Linked DNA regions of Homo sapiens: region 2 is linked to region 1. Evidence: promoter capture Hi-C in human tissues and cell types (Jung and others, 2019). All regions are on one chromosome and are shown on one strand. The core of a region is centred on a gene start or on the middle of the fragment in contact, and the rest is flanking DNA. Distances in the headings are between cores, read along the strand shown.

What was found. The method cuts DNA at HindIII sites, captures the fragments that hold promoters and counts their contacts. A contact is called where the count stands out against the background at its distance.
Region 2: a fragment that was not itself captured here is called in contact with the fragment with the promoter of HTR3D in region 1 in 2 of the 25 tissues and cell types used here (IMR-90 fibroblasts and small bowel).

The regions. Positions count from the first base shown.
Region 1 is chr3:184,029,752-184,034,235 of GRCh38, forward strand. It overlaps HTR3D (5-hydroxytryptamine receptor 3D), which reads left to right and starts at 1,991. Exons shown (of 8, transcript NM_001145143.1): 1 at 1,991-2,056. The coding sequence starts at 1,991. The HindIII fragment of the contact is 22,402 bases long and covers 1-4,484 here.
Region 2 is chr3:184,116,320-184,120,803 of GRCh38, forward strand. It overlaps the pseudogene HSP90AA5P. Among named protein-coding and RNA genes, the nearest start is that of HTR3E-AS1, 13 kb to the left of the region's middle. The HindIII fragment of the contact is 9,466 bases long and covers 1-4,484 here.

The DNA of each region.
Region 1 (4,484 bases), core at 741-3,240:
GTAATCCCAGCACTTTGGGAGGCCAAGGCAGGCAGATCACCTAAGTTTGGGAGTTTGAGACCAGCCTGACCAACATGGAGAAACCCCATCTCTACTAAAACAAAACACAAAAAATACAAAAAAATTAGCTGGGCGTCAGCCATCCCATTACTGGGTATATACCCAAAGGATTATAAATCATGCTGCTATAAAGACACATGCACATGTATGTTTATTGCAGCATTATTCACAATAGCAAAGACTTGGAACTAACCCAAATGTCCATCAATGATAGACTGGATTAAGAAAATGTGGCACATATATATCATGGAATACTATGCAGCCATAAAAAAGGATGAGTTCATGTCCTTTGTAGGGACATGGATGAAGCTGGAAACCATCATTCTGAGAAAACGAGCGAGGACAGAAAACCAAACACTGCATGTTCCCACTCATAGGTGGGAATTGAACAATGAGAACACTTGGACACAGGGTGGGGAACATTACACACTGGGGCCTGTCATGGGGTGGGGGGAGCGGGGAGGGATAGCAATAGGAGATATACCTAATGTAAATGACGAGTTAATGGGTGCAGCACACCAACATGGCACATGTATACATATGTAACAAACCTGCACGTTGTGCACATGTACCCTAGAACTTAAAGTATAATAAAAAAATGAAAAAAAAATTATCTGGGCTTTGTGGTGCATGCCTGTAATTCCAGCTACTCGGGAGGCTGAGGCAGGATAATCGCTTGAACCCGGGAGGCAGAGGTTGTGGTGGGCCAAGATCGCGCCATTGCACTCCAGCCTGGGCAGCAAGAGAGAAACTCCATTTAAAAAAAAAAATCATAAGTCAGCTTTTATTTTAAAAAAGTATTACCTCTGCCACCACCCCCTACTCCACTAATCACTCCCTTCATTGGGTAGACCTGGGTCCAGATTGCTTTTGAAACACTAAAAAGGCATAGCAAATCAGCTTTGAGAAGAGGAAGCAGAAATATGTCATCACTGGAGCAGTGCTAATGGCTTCCTCATACTTTAAAGTCTTAACTATACTGAAGTCATGTTTAAAACCTCAGTGTATGAAGTTGCTTATATTAATAGGGACCCCCCTCCCCCCAACACGCTTTCTTTTTTGAAAGATGGCAGTAGGGGGCCGGGCATGGTAGCTCACGCTTGTAATTCCAGCACTTTGGGAGCCAAGGTGGGCAGATCACCTGAGGTCAGGAGTTTGAGGCCAGCCAACCAACATGGTAAAACCTCGTCTCTACTAAAAATACAAAAACTTAGCCAGGCATGGTGGCAGGCGCCTGTAATCACAGCTACTTGGGAGGCTGAGGCAGGAGAATCGATTGAACCCGGGAGGCGGAGGTTGCAGTGAGCCAAGACTGCACCATTGCACTCCAGCCTGGGAGACAGAGGGAGACTCCGTCGCAAAAAAAAAAAAGGAAGGGAGGGAGGGAGGGAGAAAGAGAGAGAGAGGGAGGGAGGGAGAGAGAGAGAGAGAGAGAGAGAAGGAAAGAAAGAAAAAAGAAAGAAAAAGAGAAAGAGAAAGAAAGAGAAAGAAAGAAAAAGAAAGAGAAAAGAAAGAAAGAAAGAAGAAAGGAAAAGAAAAGAAAGAAAGATGACAGCAGGGTCTAACAAGTTCACGTGCCACCTGGAGGCAGTGGTAGTCATCCATGCCTTCTCGGTGAGGCACTGTACGCCAGAGTGACTTTAAAGTATGAGGAAGCCATTAGCACTGCTCCAGGGACCACATATTTTTGCTTCCTCTTCTCCAAACTGATTTGCCATATTACTTTTGGAGGCTAGATTCAGGCCCAGTTAAAGCACAGGGTGAGTTATTCCTCTGTGACATTCTTTTGTCACCAAGGGGTCTTGTTAGAGAGGCGGTTAATGCCAGCTGATATATATATTATTCAAAGGTAGGGCTCAAGGTGTGATCTGAGGTTTTTTAAAGGTTAACATCATCATCAAGTACCCAGAGAAGTGCCAAAGAGAGGAAGATGGAAAGAGGCTGGTTCCATGGGAAAGGATTCCTCCTTGGCTTCATCCTCCACCTGCTGCTGCAAGTACCTTAAGATAAGAGCAAGAGCTGAGCAGACATGTAACTCCTGGGAAGCAGAGAAAACAGGCTAATATTTTTTATTCTGAGATAGTCAATGATTGGATGTTCGTTATGGTAAAAATGATGCTCGTGACACTGATGGCTTTGTACCTCTTCCTAGGATCCTAATATTTAGTTAACTCTTTTCTCTTCTTTTTTTTTTTTTTTTTGAGATGGAGTCTCGCTCTGTTACCCAGGCTAGAGTGCAGTGGCAATATCTCAGCCCATTGCAACCTTCACCTCCCAGGTTCAAACGATCTCATGCCTCAGCCTCCCAAGTAGCTGGGATTACAGGCACCTGCCACCGTGCCTGGCTAATTTTTGTATTTTTAGTAGAGATGGGGTTTCACCATGTTGGCCAGGCTGGTCTTGAATGCCTGTCCTCAGGTGATCTGCCCGCGTGGGCCTCCCAAAGTGTTGGGATTACAGGCGTGAGCCCCTGAGCCCAGCCTGGGAACTCTTTAAGATAATCCTAGTGATGAAGACTACTAAATGTTAGAACAATCACAGCACATAGTAAAGACACAGTAAATACTCATCAAATTGAAAAACTGAAATTGATTTGTTTCCTTAAGATCCCATATATCTCACACTACCTATCTGATTACTCCCCTTATCATTAATTTATTAGCATCTATGCCATATTAATACAGCGAGGCGGAGAACTGTGAGTGCAAAATTTGTCACTGACATCACCCACATGGCTCCAGGTTGGAGGTAAGCAAGAGAAGGACACTGGCAGAAGGTGGAGAGGTTGCAGTGAGATTGTTAAGGACATGGCAGGACACTGTAAAGTGGCGGTCGGGGTTGAGTTTGCATACACATCTGGACAGGTTTTGCATGGGGACAAAACAATGGCACTGAGGATGGATCCTTGACTCAGCTCACCTCATCAGTTTCCACCATTTGCCTACCAGCTCAGCCTACTCTTCCTGGACCAGGAAGGAGGAGCTCACATGCTTCTCCCAGTGCCCCCTGTTTTCTCTCCATGCAGAAACACTCTCCAGGCCCCCCAGCCCTGGCCCTCCTCTCTCAGTCTCTGCTCACTACAGGAAATGGCGACACTTTGATTATCAATTGCCCAGGCTTTGGCCAGCACAGGGTGGACCCTGCAGCCTTTCAAGCAGTGTTTGACAGAAAGGCTATTGGTCCAGTCACCAACTACAGTGTCGCCACTCATGTCAACATCTCCTTCACCTTGTCTGCCATCTGGAAGTTGTAAGTCCTCACCCAACATTGCAGTGGTCTAGTGGTGAGCAGTGGACCCTCTGACTGGATTTTTTTTTTTTTTTTTTGAGATGGAGTCTTGCTCTTGTCACCCAGGCTGGAGTGCAGTGGTGCAATCTCAGCTCACTGCAACCTCTGCCTCCCAGTTTCAAGCGATTCTCCTGCCTCAGCCTCCGGCACGTGCTGCCCCACCCAGCTAATTTTTGTATTTTTAGTAGAGACAGGGTTTCACCATGTTGGCCAGGCTGGTCTCAAATTCCTGACCTCAGGTGATCCACCTGCCTTGGTCTCCCAAAGTTCTGGGATTACAGGCATGAGCCACCGTGCCTGGCCCTTTGATTGGATTTTGTAAAATTAGTTACTCACAACAAAAAAATCAAACAACCCAATTCAAAAATGGGCAAAGGACTTGAATAGACATTTCTGCAAAGAAGAAATACAAACAGCCAATAAGCACAAGAAAAGGTGTATGTTCAATGTTACTAATAGTTAAGAAAATGCAGATCAAAGCTACAGTAAGATATCTCACACCCACTAGGATGGCTAGTATTAAAAAACAAACAGAAGCTGGGCGAGGTGGCTCATGCCTGTAATCTCAGCACTTTGGGAGGCTGAGGCGGGTAGATCACGTGAGGTCAGGAGTTCAAGACCAGCCTGACCAACTTGGTGAAACCCCATCTCTACTAAAAATACAAAAATTAGCTGGGCGTGTTGGTGGGCACCTGTAATCCCAGCTAGTCGGGAGGAGGAGACAGGAGAATTGCTTGAACCCAGGAGGCAGAGGTTGCAGACAGCCAAGATTGTGCCACTGCACTCTAGCCTGGGTGACAGAGCAAGACTCTGTCTCAAAAAAACAAAACAAAACAAAATTAAAAAACCAGAAAATAACAAGTGTTGGTGATAATGTGGAGAAATTGGAACCCTTGTGCACTGCTTGTGAGGATGTAAAATTGTGTAGCCACTGTGGAAAAACAGTATGGCTTTTTCTCAAAATATTAAAAATAGAATTACCATACAACCAAATAATTATACTTCTGGATAAATACCCGAAAAAAGTGAAAACGGGGTATTTGTACACTTATGTTCATAGCAGAATTACTCACAATAGTTAAAACTCAGAAGCAGTCTAAGTGTCTATTGACAGATGAATGGACAGATTAAATGTG
Region 2 (4,484 bases), core at 1,240-3,739, 87 kb after region 1:
GAAGCATTCTCAGTTTATTGGCTATCCCATTACTCTTTTTGTGGAGAAGAAACGTAATAAACAAGTCAGTGATGCTGAGGCTGAAAAAAAGGAAGATAAGAGGAAGAAAAAGAAAGAGTCCAATGACAAACCTGAAATTGAAGATGTTGGTTCTGATGAAGAAGAAGAAAAGAAGGATGCTGACAAGAAGAAGAAGAAAAGTAAGGAAAAGTACATTGATCAAGAACTCAACAAAACAAAGCCTATCTGGACCAGAAATCCTGACGCTATTACTAACGAGGAGTATGGAGAGTTCCATCAGAGCTTGACCAATAACTGGGAAGATCACTTGGCAGTGAAGCACTTTTCAGTTGAAGGGCAGTTGGAAGAGTTGAAGGACAGTCGAAGAGTTTAGAAGAGCTCTTTTTGTTTCAAGATGTGCTCCTTTTGACCTATTTGAAAACAGAAAGAAAAAGAACAACATTCAGTTGTATGTACACAGAGTTTTCATCATGGGTAACTGTGAGGAGCTAATCCCTGAATACCTGAACTTCATTAGAGGGGTGATGGACTCAGAGGATCTCCCTCTAAATATTTTTTCTGAGATGTTGCAACAAAGCAAAATTTTGAAAGTTATTAGGAAGAATTTGGTCAAAACATACTTAGAACTCTTTGCTGAACTGGCAGAGGATAAAAAGAACTACAAAAAGTTCCACGAGAAGTTATCTGAAAACATAAATCTTTGAATATATAGACTCTCAAAATCAGAAGAAGCTTTCAGAGCTGTTGAAATAGTGCACATCTGCCTCTCGTGATGAGATGGTTTATCTCATTGTGTTTTCCAGAATGAAGGCAAACCAGAAACATATCTATTACATTACAGGTGAGACCAAGGACCAAGTAGCTAACTCAGCCTTTGTGGAATGTCTTCAGAAGCATGGCTTAGAAGTGATCTATATGATCGAGTTGATTGATAAGTACTGTGTCCAGCAGCTGAAGGAACTTGAGAGTAAGACTGTAGTGTCAGTTGCCAAAGAGGGTTTGGAACTTCCAGAAGATGAAGAAGAAAAAAAGAAACAGGAAGAGAAAAAAACAAAGTTTGAGAACCTCTGCAAAATCATGAAAGACATGTTGGAGAAAAAAGTCAAAAAGGTGGTTGTGTCAAACTGGTGACATCCCCATGCTGTATTGTCACAAGCACATATGGCTGGACAGCAAACATGGAAAGAATCATGAAAGCTCAAGCCCGGTAAGACAACTCAACAATGGGCTACGTGGCAGCAAAGAAACACCTGGAGATAAACCCTGACCATTCATGATTGAAACCTTAAGGCAAAAGGCAGAGGCTGATAAGAACAACAAGTCAGTGAAGGATCTGGTCATCTTGCTTTACTAAACTGCACTCCCATCTCCTGGCTTCAGTATGGAAGACCCTCAGAGACATACTAACAAGATCTATAGGATGATCAAACTTGGTCTGGGTGTTGATGAATATGATCCTACTGCTAATGATATCAATGCCGCTATAACTAAAGAAATGCCGCCCCTCAGAGGAGGTGATGACACATCACGCATGGAAGAAGTAGGCGGCTCTGGCTGAGGAATGACTTGTACATGTGTTCAATACTCTATCTTCATTCTCTCTGATAATATATTTTCAGGATTATTTTAGTTATTTTTGTTAACATTTAAAAAGTCTGTATGGGGGCCGGGCGTGGTGGCTCACACCTGTAATCCCAGCACTTTGGGAGGCTGAGGCAGGTGGATCACCTGAGGTCAGGAGTTCGAGACCAGCCTGGCCAACATGGCGAAACCCAATCTCTACTAAAAAAAAACAAAATATTAGCCGGGTGTGGTGGTGTGCACCTGTAATCCCAGCTACTCAGGAGGCTGAGGCAGGAGAATCATGTGAACCCAGGAGGCGGAGGTTGCTGTGAGCTGAGATCACGCCATTGCACTCCAGCCCGGGAGAAAGTGGGAGACTCTGCCTTCAAAAAAAAAAAAAAAAAAGTCTGCATGGCATGACAATAACTATTTCAGGGGGAAGGTAAGGTTTCTTTCTACTTCTAAGTGATTTTGTGATACTTCTAAGTGATTTTGTGATACTTCAGGCACTAAAACAGAGCTAGCAATGCTTTTCTAGTTTCACATTGGCTTATTTTAACAGATTGGGGTAATGTGTGTTGTAAGATGTATGTAGGCTGGGTGCGGTGGCTCACGCCTGTAATCCCAGCACTTTGGGAGGACGAGGCGGGTGGATCACCTGAGGTCAGGAGTTCAAGACCAGCCTGGCCAACATGACAAAACCTCGTCTCTACTAAAAATACAAAAATTAGTTGGGTGCTATGGCAGGTGCCTGTAATCCCAGGTACTCGGGAGGCTGAGGCAGGGGAATTGCTTGAACCCAGGAAGTGGAGGTTGCAGTGAGCCAAGATCACGCCACTGTACTCTAGCCTGGGCAACAGAGAGAGACTCCACCTCAAAAAAAAAAAAAAAGAAAGAAAGAAAGAAAGAAAAGAAAAAAAAAAGATGTATGTAACCTAACATTAACTTTGTGATCTAAACTGTTTAAGCTATCAAGCCAGATTCCTTAGTAGGCCAAATCTTTGTCACTGAAGTTTTCTGAGAAATACCTTGATGTTTAGAGGAAAAGTATTTGTTGCATCTTCTAGGATCTACTTTTTAAACTTTTCATCCTGTAGTTGCCAATTCTGCATGTAATTGTCCTCTGGAAATATGTTAAACTGAAGCAACTTGATGGAAGGAACTCTCCACAGGACTTGTTTTCCAAAGGAAAATATTGTTTGCAGGAGCAAAATTATAAGCCTACCTAGGCATATTGTAAAGCTGTTCAGAAATAACCCAGAGCGAGGCTTGTGAATGGAACTGTAGTACCCAAGTCACATTCTGCTTAAAAAGGTTGTAACAAATACAGATGAGTTTAAAAGAAAAAAAAAAAAAAGGCAGAAATGCAACAGGCCCAGAATAATCAAAACAATCCTGGAGCAGAACACAGTTGGTAGACTCACACTTCCTCATTTCAAAACGTACTGCAGGCCAGGCGCGGTGGTTCATACCTGTAATCCCAGCACTTTGGGAGACCGAGGCGAGGGGATCGCCTGAGGTCAGGAGTTTGAGACCAGCCCGGCCAAAGTAGCAAAACCCCATCTCTACTAAAAATACAAAAATTAGCTGGACATGGTGGCGTGTGCCTGTAATCCCAGCTACTCGGGAGGCTGAGGAAGGAGAATCGCTTGAACCCAGGAGGTGGAGGTTGCAGTGAGCCGAGATCGTGGCACTGTACTTCAGCCTGAGAGACAGAGCAAGACTCCATCTTAAAAAAAAAAACTTACTACAAAGATATTGTAATCAAGATAGTGTGATACTGGCATAAGGAAAGACATATAGGTCAACGAAATTCGAATGGAGAGTTCATAAATAAACCCTAACATTTACGGTCAATTTATTTTCTACAAAGGGAACAAAATAATTCAATGATAAAAAGAATAGTTTTTTTCAGCAAATGGTGCTTAGACAACTGGATATCCACATGCAAAAGAATGTCTTTGGACCCCTACCCCTCACACCATACACAAAAATCAACTCAAAATGGATCACAGTCCTAAACATAGGAGCTAAATGTTTTCTTAGAAGAAAACATAGCAGTTAATCTTCACGATCTTGGGGTGGGCTATGATTTCTTATATATGACTATTATAAGCACAAACGATAAAAAAGAAAGATAGATAAGCCTGGGCGCGGTAGCTCATGCCTATAATCCAAGCACTTTGGGAGGTCTAGGCAGGCGGATCACCTGAGGTCAGGAGTTTGAGGCCAGCCTGACCAACATGGAGAAACCCTGTCTCTACTAAAAATACAAAATTAGCCGGGCGTGGTGGCGCATGCCTGTAATCCCAGCTACTTGGAAGGCTGAGGCAGGAGAATCACTTGAATCCGGGAGGCGGAGGTTGTGGTGAGCTGAGATCACACCATTGCAATCTACCCTGGGCAACAAGAGGGAAACTCTATCCCAAAAAAAGAAGAAGAAGAAAGGAAGGAAGGAAGGAGGGAGGGAGAGAAGGAAGGAGGGAGGGAGGGAGTGAGGGAAGGAAGGAAGGAAGGAAGGAAGGAAGGAAGGAAGGAAGGAAGGAAGGAAAGAAGAGCAAGGAAGGAAGGAAGGAAGGAGAAATTGGACTTTATCAAAATTTAAAACTATCATGCTTTAAATAAACCATCAAGAAAGTGAAAAAAGAACCCACAGGCTGGGAGACAATATTTGAAGGTCATATATCTGATACAGGATATGTACCCTGAATACATAAAGAGCTCTTACACCTGAACAATAAATAAACAAATAATCAACGAAAAAGAGCAAAGAATTTGAATAGTCATTTCTCCAAAGAAGATACACAAATGGCCAGTAAGCACATGAAGGCCGGGTACAGTGGCTCATGCCTGTAATCCAGCTCTTTGAGAGGCTGAGGTGGGCTAATTACATGAGGTCG